Regions from separate parts of the Homo sapiens genome. Here all the other regions are linked to region 2. The links are contacts of gene promoters, found by promoter capture Hi-C in blood cells and fetal thymus (Javierre and others, 2016). All regions are on one chromosome and are shown on one strand. The core of a region is centred on a gene start or on the middle of the fragment in contact, and the rest is flanking DNA. Distances in the headings are between cores, read along the strand shown. Region 1 overlaps LINC02942 (long intergenic non-protein coding RNA 2942). Region 2 holds the start of CR1 (complement C3b/C4b receptor 1 (Knops blood group)). Region 3 overlaps LOC107985251 (a long non-coding RNA gene).

Region 1 (3,702 bases), core at 65-2,564, 250 kb after region 2:
AGACAACAAGGAGGGTTGGGAGGGTTATGAAAAGCAGAGCCTGTGTGAGAGAGAAAATGTCTCTTGCAGAACCTCTGCAAATTAGCCCTCAAGGGCTGCTACCTCCTGGAGGCAGTAAGCTTGATCCTCTCTTGGGACCATATTTTTCAGGGACAGTGAGTAGACAGTGGCCATAAACTAGACCTAGCAAATGGCATGACGAAGGAAAGAGAGATATACAGCAAATTCTCTGAGCCCTCTCCTTTAGGGCACCTGGAACACTGATCATTCAGGCCAGTGATGGAATTTTAGATCCCAGGAGACAGAAGTTAAGGCAATGCATTCTGATTCCAGAGGGCCAGAGATCTCATTATTAGATAATACACAGGGATTTGGATGGCAATAAATAGCAGTATGGCCAGGGGACTCAGGAACACCTGAATTATGCCTTGACAAATATTCCTTCCCTTCCCTGTCATCACTGGGTCTTCATTCCTGCTTCCTTGACCTGGCTTCCTAACATGTGGCCAGGACATGACACCAGCCAGGGCCTGGCCTTTCAGTTCCTTGAGCCCCACATCTCCAATGACATCCTCCTGCTCACTTAGCACCTCTCCAATGGTCATCCTATACTTTGTCACTACCCAGGGCTGTTCCAGCTGAAGAATAAAATATTCAGATACCACACTCTGTGACCACACCCTTTTGTCTTTCAAGTTTGTTCCTTCTTGACAGTCCCCTGCCATCAAACACTTTTTCTTGAAAATCACCATCCACCAACCCCTCTTCTTTTCATTTCTTTTCTTCCCTTCCCAACTGAGGGGCAATGAGGCACCATTTTAGCCTTTTATCAATATTTTAAACTTCTTTGCCCCTTATGACCCTTCATTATATCCACCTAATAAAATCCCAGCCTTAAATGAATCAGGAATCTGCTGTTTCATGTTAGCAGAACTCTAGAAAAATACCCATAAAATTAAGCAGATTGGTACCACTATAAATTTGTGGTTACCAATTTCAGCAGGGCCCTCAACTCTGACTTTCTGAAAATTATAAATTTATTTAGTAAGATTGTTTTTATATTTACTACATTTTCAACCCTTGTCTATCTTTCTTGAAATGCAAAGTTTCCTACTTTTTCCCTCTCTCTGAGGAAGTGCTCTTATTTCTAGCTCAGTGGGAAAACAGAAGCCATTATAAAGGATGCCTGTTATATAGCCAGACAGCCCCCATACCCATTCTTTCCTTTTTCCCCCTCCTATAAAATCGAGATGTCCATCATCCAATCTGAGGTTATTTTCTCCCAACTCAGCCCCAAATCTCATCCCCTATGGCTTTATCAGGAAAAACGTACACTGCTTACTCTCCCATCCCAGTCTCCCCTATCCCACCTGTCCTGTCTATTGTAGTCAACTTATCCCTTAACCTGATGTCCTGCTCCAGCTACTGCCTACTCCCTGTCTTTCCTTTCTTTAGCAGCCAAATATATCATTGTTAGTTTTAAAAATTATTAAAATTATACTACTGTTTTCTATTATTCCAAAGATAAAAATTAAAATTACTATTATTACATTATATATCATCTATGTTATATGTATAAATATGCTCAGGTTACAAATAGAATGCAAGATTATAAAGTGTCAAATAAATTCTTGGCCTTCCTAACCATTCTTCAAATACATACCCCAGAGATCATCACTATGAGATTATGTAAACAGTATACTTAGATATGTAAGAATTTCTTACACAAATGGGATCATATGATACATGCTGTTCTGAAACAAGCATTTTTCATTTTATACATTTTAGGTATCTTTCCACATCAGTGCATGCAAATCTACCTCATTTTTTCATGACTACATTTCATTTTAGTGGGTTTTTATTGTTCACAGCACTATGCTCAGTGTCTGGCACAGAGTAGGTTCTCTATGAACACTTGGTGGATTAGTAAATTCCAGTGTTTGTAAGCACATCGTATTTAAACCAGTCCCCTGTTGGTAAATGTTTGGGTTGTCTTAAGTTTGTTGCTATTACAAATCAACTTGGCCATGCCCTCTCAGCTGCATCCCCTGTCCTCACATCCTTTTGACTCCCCCTGCCTGTGTTCCTATATCTATGTCTTACCTGTTCCTTTATTGTCTGTTACCATAGGCTCTTCTTCCTGTACTGATTAGCTGAGAAACTGTCCTTGATTGCTAATCACAAGAAATCCAAAAGTAATGAGCATATGTGATTATGCAAGTTTTGCAGGAAATCTCTGTAGTTGCAGTGTGTTAGTCATTAGTGTGGTTCCTCAATGATTCTGATTCTTCTCCTTCCAGGCACATGATAGTGTTGTTCTTCCCTCTTCCTTTTATAGCTCCGTTAAAGTGATTTGCTTTTGGCAGTAAAATGTAAAGTTATGAAGAGCCATGGGATTTTCATATTCCTTCCCCCGAAGCAGAGGCTGTGTGGGTCGCAGGGCAGATCCCAACCCTGCTCCCCAGCAACCCAAGATAGACATGTAGTGTTAACAGGAAATAAAGCTTTATTTATTTATTTATTTATTTATTTATTTTTATTTTTTTATTTTATTTTTATTTATTTATTTATTTATTTATTTTTTTGAGATGGAGTCTTGGTCTGTCACCCAGGCTGGAGTGCAGTGGTGTGATCTTGGCTCACTGCAAGCTCTGCCTCTGGGGTTCATGCCATTCTCCTGCCTCAGCCTCCCCAGTAGCTGGGACTACAGGCACCCACCACCACACCTGGCTAATTTTTTGTATTTTTAGTAAAGGCGGGGTTTCACCATGTTAGCCAGGATGGTCTCGACCTCCTGACCTCGTGATCTGCCCTCCTTGGCCTCCCAAAGTGCTGGGATTACAGGCCTGAGCCACCCTGCCTGGCCAATAACGCTTTATTTTTAAAGCCACTGAGATTTGGGGGTTGTTTGCCATGACAATAAACTTAGTTTTTCCCAACTAATACACTCACAGGGTAGGACCACATCACAAAAGAAGGCATCCTGTGGGGTCCCTCATTCATTCCCCACCCCCCAGGGCTCAGCATGTATATGAACCTTGTACGACCCTTCCTGTCCACATCTGCTCTGAATGACTTCTCCTGAGAAAAAATTTCTCTATCCATTGCTACCTTCTTCTGAAAAAGGATTTTGTTACCCCAACAAATCTGTTATACAATGGCTTTCAGAGAATCTGGAATAAGGCAATTATAAAAGTTATTTTGAAACATACCCTCATTTCCCATATTGCCCCCACTGTGAACCAGTTTTCTGGGGCATTGCATGGAAGGTCCCAGACACCTGTCTTGTTTCCTGCTTCCTTGTTTGGTCTGATTCATTAGAACTGTGGAGGAAATCCTCTTTCTCACCTTTGGAGCCCCTCCCTGACTCATATAAGAGAGAAGCTCCCGGCTGGGTGCGGTGGCTCACACCTGTAATCCCAGAACTTTGGGAGGCCGAGGCGGGCGGATCACGAGGTCAGGAGATCAAGACCACCCTGGCTAACACGGTGAAACCCCATCTGTACTAAAAATACAAAAACAAACAAACAAACAAAAAAAATTAGCCGGGTATGGTGGCGGGTGCCTGTAGTCCCAGCTACTCGGGAGGCTGAGGCAGGAGAATGGCGTGGATCTGGGAGGTGGAGCTTGCAGTGAGCCGAGATTGGGCCACTGCACTCCAGCCTGGGTGACAGAGCGAGACTCTGTCTCAAAAAAAAAAAA
Region 2 (3,580 bases), core at 468-2,967:
ACAAAATTTCTAGGTAGTTTAGTTTAGGCTGTTTCACATTTGGAAGTTATTGTGATAACCTCAGTAAATTTTTTTTTTGCAATTAATAGTGTCTGGGATTGTTTATAACAGTAACTTAATCAACATAGGCTAAGTAAAACAACATTCTAGTAAGAAGAGGGCCAGTACTCCCAAAGATGACACAAATTCCTAAGCGTTGACAACAGATTGCTTAACTTACTGGGCATGCTTCTCTCCTAAAAATAAGATTGTACGTTTTATCACATCTCTGCACCTGACAGGTTACTTTCTGGTGCCTAAGGAGATCAAATATTAATAACAACTCTTGCGGGACTTGGTTCTACTTTATTTTATTTTATTTACTCTTTTAGAGAAGAAGGAACACTCAAATAATGAATGTAAAATGTCTAGTGGCAGAGAAGGGCGAACCCGGAGTTGTCAGGAATAGGCTGGACAAAAACAACCAAGACTGTCACTTCAAATGAGATGTTGCCAGTGAGTCTAGGCAACCAAGAAGACTTCTGGGGAGCCGAAAAATAATAATAGAAGGGTTCTAACTGAAGATGTTTACCTATTTGAAGTTAAGAAAAAGGAAGAGATGTGGCCTCAAAATTTCCATAATAATTATAATAGGCGTTATTTTGTACTAAACACATCACTAAAATGCGAACTGTAAACATATCTACTGTCCCTTCTACCTGCAACGGTTACATTGCATGTTCTGGGGCTTCCCTTGCTCTTCTAATCCGCAAGTGCCTGGCATGCATCTGTCTTAAAGTATGCTGTCAATTAAGTGCATGGTGATGATGGCCGTGGTGGCTTGGTGTGGGGGGCGAGGACAGTTCCATGCGGGGCAGTTGTCAGGTAACACCTGCATCCCTAGGACTGCTTGTCTAAACACCATTGGGAGCAAAGTACAGAGGTAACGGTTGGGGGATAGAAATGGACTCGGGGACACATAGCCCTGTGTTAGATACTCGACAGGCTTAATGCCACTGAGGCAGCAACTCCACGATGCAGAGATACCAGTGTCCCCATTTTACAGAAGAGCAAACAGACTCAGGTGTGCTAAGTTGCCTCACAGTTAAGTTTCTAGGACCAGAACTCAGGTTTGTCGGATCCCCAAGTTCCCTTTCACTAGGATCAACGCCACGTCTTGGCTATAGCCAGCCGAGGCTGTGAATACACAAAGGCAAGGAATTTCGTGCGGCACCCGCTCAGCATCTGCGCCTTCCACTGCGCTCGTCACGACTTAAGCCCCTGCACCTGGGAACTCCACGCTTACCCAGAAGCAGCGAGGGTCTCCAGTGCGCAGAAGGATCCTACACCCGCCGCCCTGCCGGGTCGCGCGCTCAGCCCACCCATCGCGCTGCCTTCGGACCCGGGCGCGCAGAGCAGCGCAGCTCAGCGCTGCACGCGAGTTCTCTGCGGGGCCCCGGGTTCCTCGTCCGCCCGGGCGCCTCCCCACGCCCGCCCGCCTCTCACCCCAGGCCACCGGCAGCGCAAGCAGCACCACAACCGCCAGCAGGGATCCTCCGCAGCAGAAGGGGAGACCGGGCGCCGGCGGCCCGACAGGCTCCGGGCTTCTTGGAGAAGAGGCCCCCATTCTCCCCAAGCACATCTACAAACCAGATTTGATCTCGAAGAAAACTGAAATAAGAGGAAAAGCTCAGCGAAAATAGGAGTGACCAATCATTGTGCTCCGCGCCCAGAGTGTGGGGAGGGCTGCGGGGTTCCGGGACAAAATGCTTTTGACCACAGCTTCCCCTTCATGGGCGAGGTCATGTTTACTCCCCATTTGCATTGTTTCTAACGAGTTTCGCTGGCAGAGCCCACCTTGCTGACCCAGGTGCAGCAGCAGAGCTTGACAATGCTCGGGCTTCCGATGGATCCCGCGTGTGAGGCCCTGCGCTTCCAGACAAAGGCGGTGGATGATGGCAGCTCGCCTCCAAACACCCTGCTTAACTTTTCCTCTTTGCAAGAATGTGTGTGGGAAGGTCAGCTAATGAAATGCCTGCTCTCCGTGTTGAAGGGCAATTGCAGGCGATGTGTACGGTGTACAGGGAATGTGAAGAAACAATTTCCTTACCCTGAATTGAGACGTCATGCCATTGTAAGATTTTTTAAAAGGGAGGGACAATTAGATACACATTTAAAAAATGTAAATCTGTGTATAGTATGGAAGGTAGATTAGAATAGGGCAATAATGGACTGCGAAGACCAGTCAGGGGAGCTTTTGCCGACATCCAAGTGAGGTTTGATGGCGGCCCTGACTGGGTGGATAAAGTGGACAATTAACAAAGATATTGGAGATGGAATGAACAGTTGCTCATGTATTGGATTTTGGTTACTTCCTTTCTTAAGGTTGGTGGTGAGAAGAAAGCAATCAAGAGTTAGCCCCCTTGCGGTAGTTTGCTGAGAATGATGGTTTCCAGCTTCCACAATGAGAACACATGGACACAGGAAGAGGAACATCACACACCGGGGCCTGTTGTGGGGTGGGGGGAGGGGGGAGGGATAGCATTAGGAGATATACCTAATGTAAAGGACGAGTTAATGGGTGCAGCACACCAACGTCGCACATGTATGCATATGTAACAAACCTGCACGTTGTGCACATGTACCCTAAAACTTAAAGTATAATAAAAAAAAGAAACAAAAAAAAGAAAAAAGAAAGAAATAATTAAATAATTAAGTTTAAAAAAGGTAGAAAAAATAATATTTTATCTTTTTTATTGGGGGTGGCCTGTCCTTCTGACATGTACTGCCTGCCTGTAGGTAGGCTATTTTGCCTGGGTTTTTCTCTTAAAATAATTTTGACTTTAAACCTTGATTTTGTTGTTGTTGTTGTTGTTGTTGCTAATTTTATGTTAAACTTGTTTTCCTTAACCATTAAAAGGAGACATGATTCAGAAAAGAAAAAAAAAAAAGAGTTAGCCCCAGGATTAGAAATGAATGGTGGTGCTACTTACTGAAATAAGAAGTATGGATGTAGGACTGACAGATTTAGGGCAGAGGGTTAAGTATTCAAGGATGAATGTATTCCTCCTATCTATCTGTGATCCTGTGCCCTTTAACCAATCTCTCTCCATCTCCCATTGTCTCTCCCTTCCCCAGCCTCTGGTAACCAGTATTCTACCCTCTACTTCTATGAGATGAGTTTTTTAGAGTCCACATATGACTAATAACATACAGCATTTGTCTTTCTGTGCGCATTGGTTTCCATTAGGCTTCCTCCCAAAATTCTAGTGGAAGAAATGTCTACTTTGATCATATCACTTATCACAGTTTTTAGTACATCCAGTGACATTCTTTTAAGGATTTGCTATCATCATTTCAAGTTATTCTCAACAGAGTAATGGGAGTAGCAGCCAGATTGTAGTAGGCTTAGGAAAAGAGAAGAGGAGAAGGCTCATTTCCCCAGTTTTACATCACATGCTATCAGAAGGTGCCACTCCTTACCACTTCTGCTGGTATCCATCTCCTAGTATCTACTTTCTCCCTCATTCCTTGAAAGTTTGAGCTCCTGGCTCATGGCCACCTTCTCCACTGTTACTTCTGCCACAGTTCCTGGTGATTT
Region 3 (3,641 bases), core at 146-2,645, 180 kb after region 2:
AAATGCTATACAAATATCACAACCAAAGTGGTATGGGGCTTCAGAAAGGAAAGAAGGGAGTGTGGTAATTGGAGCGGGGAAGGCTAAAGGCCCAGTGATTCAACTAAATATGACAAGTGTCAATGCAATAGGGCAAAAATAGGAAAAGAGATGAGATACGAACAAAGGTTTGGGGTCAGTCCTGTTGATTCCAGGAATAGTAAGGAGTTTAGTTTAGGGAGAGTATGGAGAACTGAATTGAGGCAATGGCAATGGAACAAGAGGGTAAGAGAGGCTGGAAAGAGATTTGAGAGAGCCTTAAAGGCAAGGCCTGTGCCTTTTACACCATTCAGAAGCATTAAAGGACGGTTGACACTTGTAAGGAGGAAGCACCTGGGTAATTTGGAATTTGCATCTAAGATGCTGGAATGGGAATGGCTGTGTAAGCAAAGATCCAATTTAGCTAATTACAACAGTCCAGGTGTTTAGAGAACAAAAATGTCTTTTAGTTTTAAAATTAATAAATCTATATTAAGGAGTTCCAGTCCTGTTGCTCTGTAAAACTCCTGACACAATTATTATAGACTTTTGAATTTCCATTCCTGCTCTGACCAAACAAGTTTCAAAGTAATAAGCCACAGAATTTGGCAACTGATTAGATAAGGAACAGTGGGGAAAAAGATGTTGAAGAGGACTCGGAAGTTTGGAGTTTGTGAGATTAGCAGCCCTATTTAAAAGAACTATCCATATTCAGCTTTACACTTGTTGAATTTCAAATGCCTTGGCAGAGTGTCTACGTGGAAATGTCCAGCATGCGATTGAAACGGAGGCAAGATTGAGGTGGAGTGGGTAGAGATGTGACTGCAGGCAAGGTTTGAACCAAGGGAGCATAGCATGTGGAAATAGAGAAGCCCAAGGTGTGAGACTTGAGGAGCCCCACGTTAGAAAGTACAAATGACAGAGAAAGGGAAAGGAGAAGGTAGTGGAAAGGAAAGAGGATTGTGCAATTTCTTGAAAGCCAAGGAATACAAAACTGTGAGCAAATATTATCACCCTCATTGCAAGTGAACCAGCTGGTGTTTAGGGAAGTTAAGAAACTAGCCCCAAACCACATGGCTTGCTGGCAGTAGAACTAGTGCTTAGGATCTTAACACCTCTGTTAGACTGGCCAGGCAACATTCCTCCAGAAAATCTCCCTTGCCATTGCATCATACCTGGTACCTTCCTCTATGCTACCAAAGTATGTAATGTGCCTATCTATGCCTCACATCTGAGGAACCAGTCTATTTCATATTTACATTCTAACTCAGCCTAAATTTATTGCCAACTTATCTTAAAATAGCCAATGGGCGGGGGGTGGGGGTTGGGGGGAGCTTTATATTGAGGCATTTTTGTCATGCAGCTGCAAATACAGGTAATTCTGCTTCACAGAATAAGGGTATTTTTTAATAAATGAAAACAAATGAGTGGACTCTCCCATTTCTTATACATGAGTTCTTCAGGAATTCACTAATCAAGGTATCAGTGTATTGCAGCAGACATAGTAGTTTTTTTTTCACTAGGTGCAGGTTCAGCAGGACCTGGGAAAAAGTGGTCTAATTCCATGTGACATGTTCACCTATGAAATGGCATCCTGCCCTGCAGCTGACTTCCCTGTGTGTGTGAGAACAGGCTCAGCAGCCAGGGGGAAATGCAATGCTTGACTTATGTGAGCAAATATTTATTTGCCAAGATCTAACTTTCTGAGACAACAGTGAATTTTTGCTACCTCCACTTTGGAGGTAGGGGCAGGAACAAGAAAATGTGTGTGTGCACACATGTGAGACTGTGTTCATGTGTGAACTTCAAACACAAATTTAGGTTTTGCAATAGTAACATTATTTATAGGAGCAATTGGGAAGGTTAGGAATCTTGTAGCCTTTAGCTGCATGACTCCTGAGCCATAATTTTTAATCTTGTGGCTAGTTTGTTCATTTTAGTATGTGTGTGCAAGAATGTGAGAATATGTTTGCATGTGAGAGTGTATGCATGTATGAGTGTGTAAGCGTGTGTGTGCATGTATGAACGTGTGTGAGCATGTGAGTGTGCATATATGAATGTGTGTGAGCATGTGAGTGTGCATATATGAATGTGTGTGAGCATGAGAGTATGTGCATGTATGAATGTGAGCATGTGAGAGTGTGTGTGCATGTATGAATGTGAGCATGTGAGTGTGTGCATGTATATGTGTGAGCATGAGTGTGTGCATGTATGAATGTGTGTGAGCATGTGAGAGTGTGCGTGCATGTATGAATGTGTGTGTGCATGTGTGTGTGTATGAAAGTCTGAGCATGTGTGTGCATGTATGAATGAGTGTGCATGTGTGTGCATGTATGAATGTGTGTGAGCATGTGAGTGTGTGTATGAAAGCCTGTGTGAGCATGTGTGTGCATGTATATGAATGTGTATGAGCATGTGAGAGTGTATGTGCGTGTATGAATGTGAGCATGTGAGAGTGTGTGTGCATGTGAGAGTGTGGTCCAGCACCCAACCGCTCTGAAACACAAATTTCCCACTTATAAAACAGGTGTAATGATATTACCTCATAGAGGTTTTGTGAGGAATAAAGGAAATAATGTATGTAAAGCATTTGGCCCATTGCTTGGCACACAGTACTCTATAAATATTAACAATAATGAATGATCATGGGTGATGACATGAATGAATGTTTCCTATAACAAGACTTGGCCACTTTTCATGAAATCTATAAATACAGCCATGTCATGACATACAGTTTTAAAATTCTGTAAAAGCAATATGAAATTCTCATGTATTAGCAATGTGGAGATCATTTAGTTGTTTTCCTTATTCTTTCCCCACTCAGTAGTATTTTTCCTTTAGCAAAGATTAGGTCATTTACCAAGATTCAGAATTGTATAAACATTGGATTCTTTACCTCCAATGTAGTCCCATCTGCAGTTTGTTTCCCTTGATTTAACAGCTTGCAAGTTAAGCAGATTTACAATTTAAGCTTACTAGAATTGCACAAGGGTAAGGAGGGAAGAAAGAAGAAATTTACATTGAAGGGATCACCTTCCATTGATACTCTCACTTTGAGACTTAACCTTGGTTAACCATCCAGCAGTGCCATGAGTAAACTATTATTACTTACAATTGCACATGTTGGGACAGGTTCAGAGGGGGAAATGATTGGATAAAACAATACAGATGGCAAAGCCAAGCAAAATTTGAACCCAGTTCTGGGGAGATTTAAAATTATGCTCCGTCCACTCTACGTGTTACCTTTTATTTGTTGGTGCATAATGAAGACTAAAGCGTTCCTCGATCTTTCTCAAAGTGTTCATCGGTGAGTATTTTCCTAGCACTGTTCTTTCAGATGTCAAATAAAATCCATTTACCTATATGATGATCATTTCTCTAGGATAAATAGTACTTTCTCATATAGCCAAATGTTCTGCTATGAAGAAGGTAATTTACTTCAGACAAACAATAATTGCAGGTTTTGTTGAAAACACTTCTGTTTTCTCAAGTCCCCCATCTGATACCACCTCCTCTACTACTTCTGTGACATCCTTTCCCCCTCATGTTTCCAGACCATGTGGCCTCATTTTGATGTCATTTAGTCCATTAGCCCAAAGGTCTATAATAATTATGTCAGGGTT

Evidence for each region. Contacts are between HindIII fragments. The CHiCAGO score rates a contact against its expected background, and 5 or more counts as called.
Region 1: a contact is called between a fragment that was not itself captured here and the fragment with the promoter of CR1 in region 2, in 1 of 17 cell types (M2 macrophages). The highest score is 6.5, in M2 macrophages.
Region 3: a fragment that was not itself captured here is called in contact with the fragment with the promoter of CR1 in region 2 in 1 of 17 cell types (M2 macrophages); the score reaches 5.3 in M2 macrophages.

Annotation. Positions count from the first base shown.
Region 1 is chr1:207,247,552-207,251,253 of GRCh38, reverse strand. All of the region lies in intron 2 of LINC02942 (long intergenic non-protein coding RNA 2942), which reads right to left. The region is part of intron 1 of LOC107985251 (a long non-coding RNA gene); the gene reads left to right. Among named protein-coding and RNA genes, the nearest start is that of LINC02942, 9.3 kb to the right of the region's middle. The HindIII fragment of the contact is 2,385 bases long and covers 122-2,506 here.
Region 2 is chr1:207,494,294-207,497,873 of GRCh38, reverse strand. It overlaps CR1 (complement C3b/C4b receptor 1 (Knops blood group)), which reads right to left and starts at 1,717. Exons shown (of 47, transcript NM_000651.6): 1 at 1,486-1,717. The coding sequence starts at 1,606. The HindIII fragment of the contact is 13,119 bases long and covers 1-3,580 here.
Region 3 is chr1:207,314,313-207,317,953 of GRCh38, reverse strand. The region is part of intron 1 of LOC107985251 (a long non-coding RNA gene); the gene reads left to right. Among named protein-coding and RNA genes, the nearest start is that of CD55, 5.5 kb to the left of the region's middle. RefSeq lists an enhancer at 541-1,370. The HindIII fragment of the contact is 3,192 bases long and covers 1-2,991 here.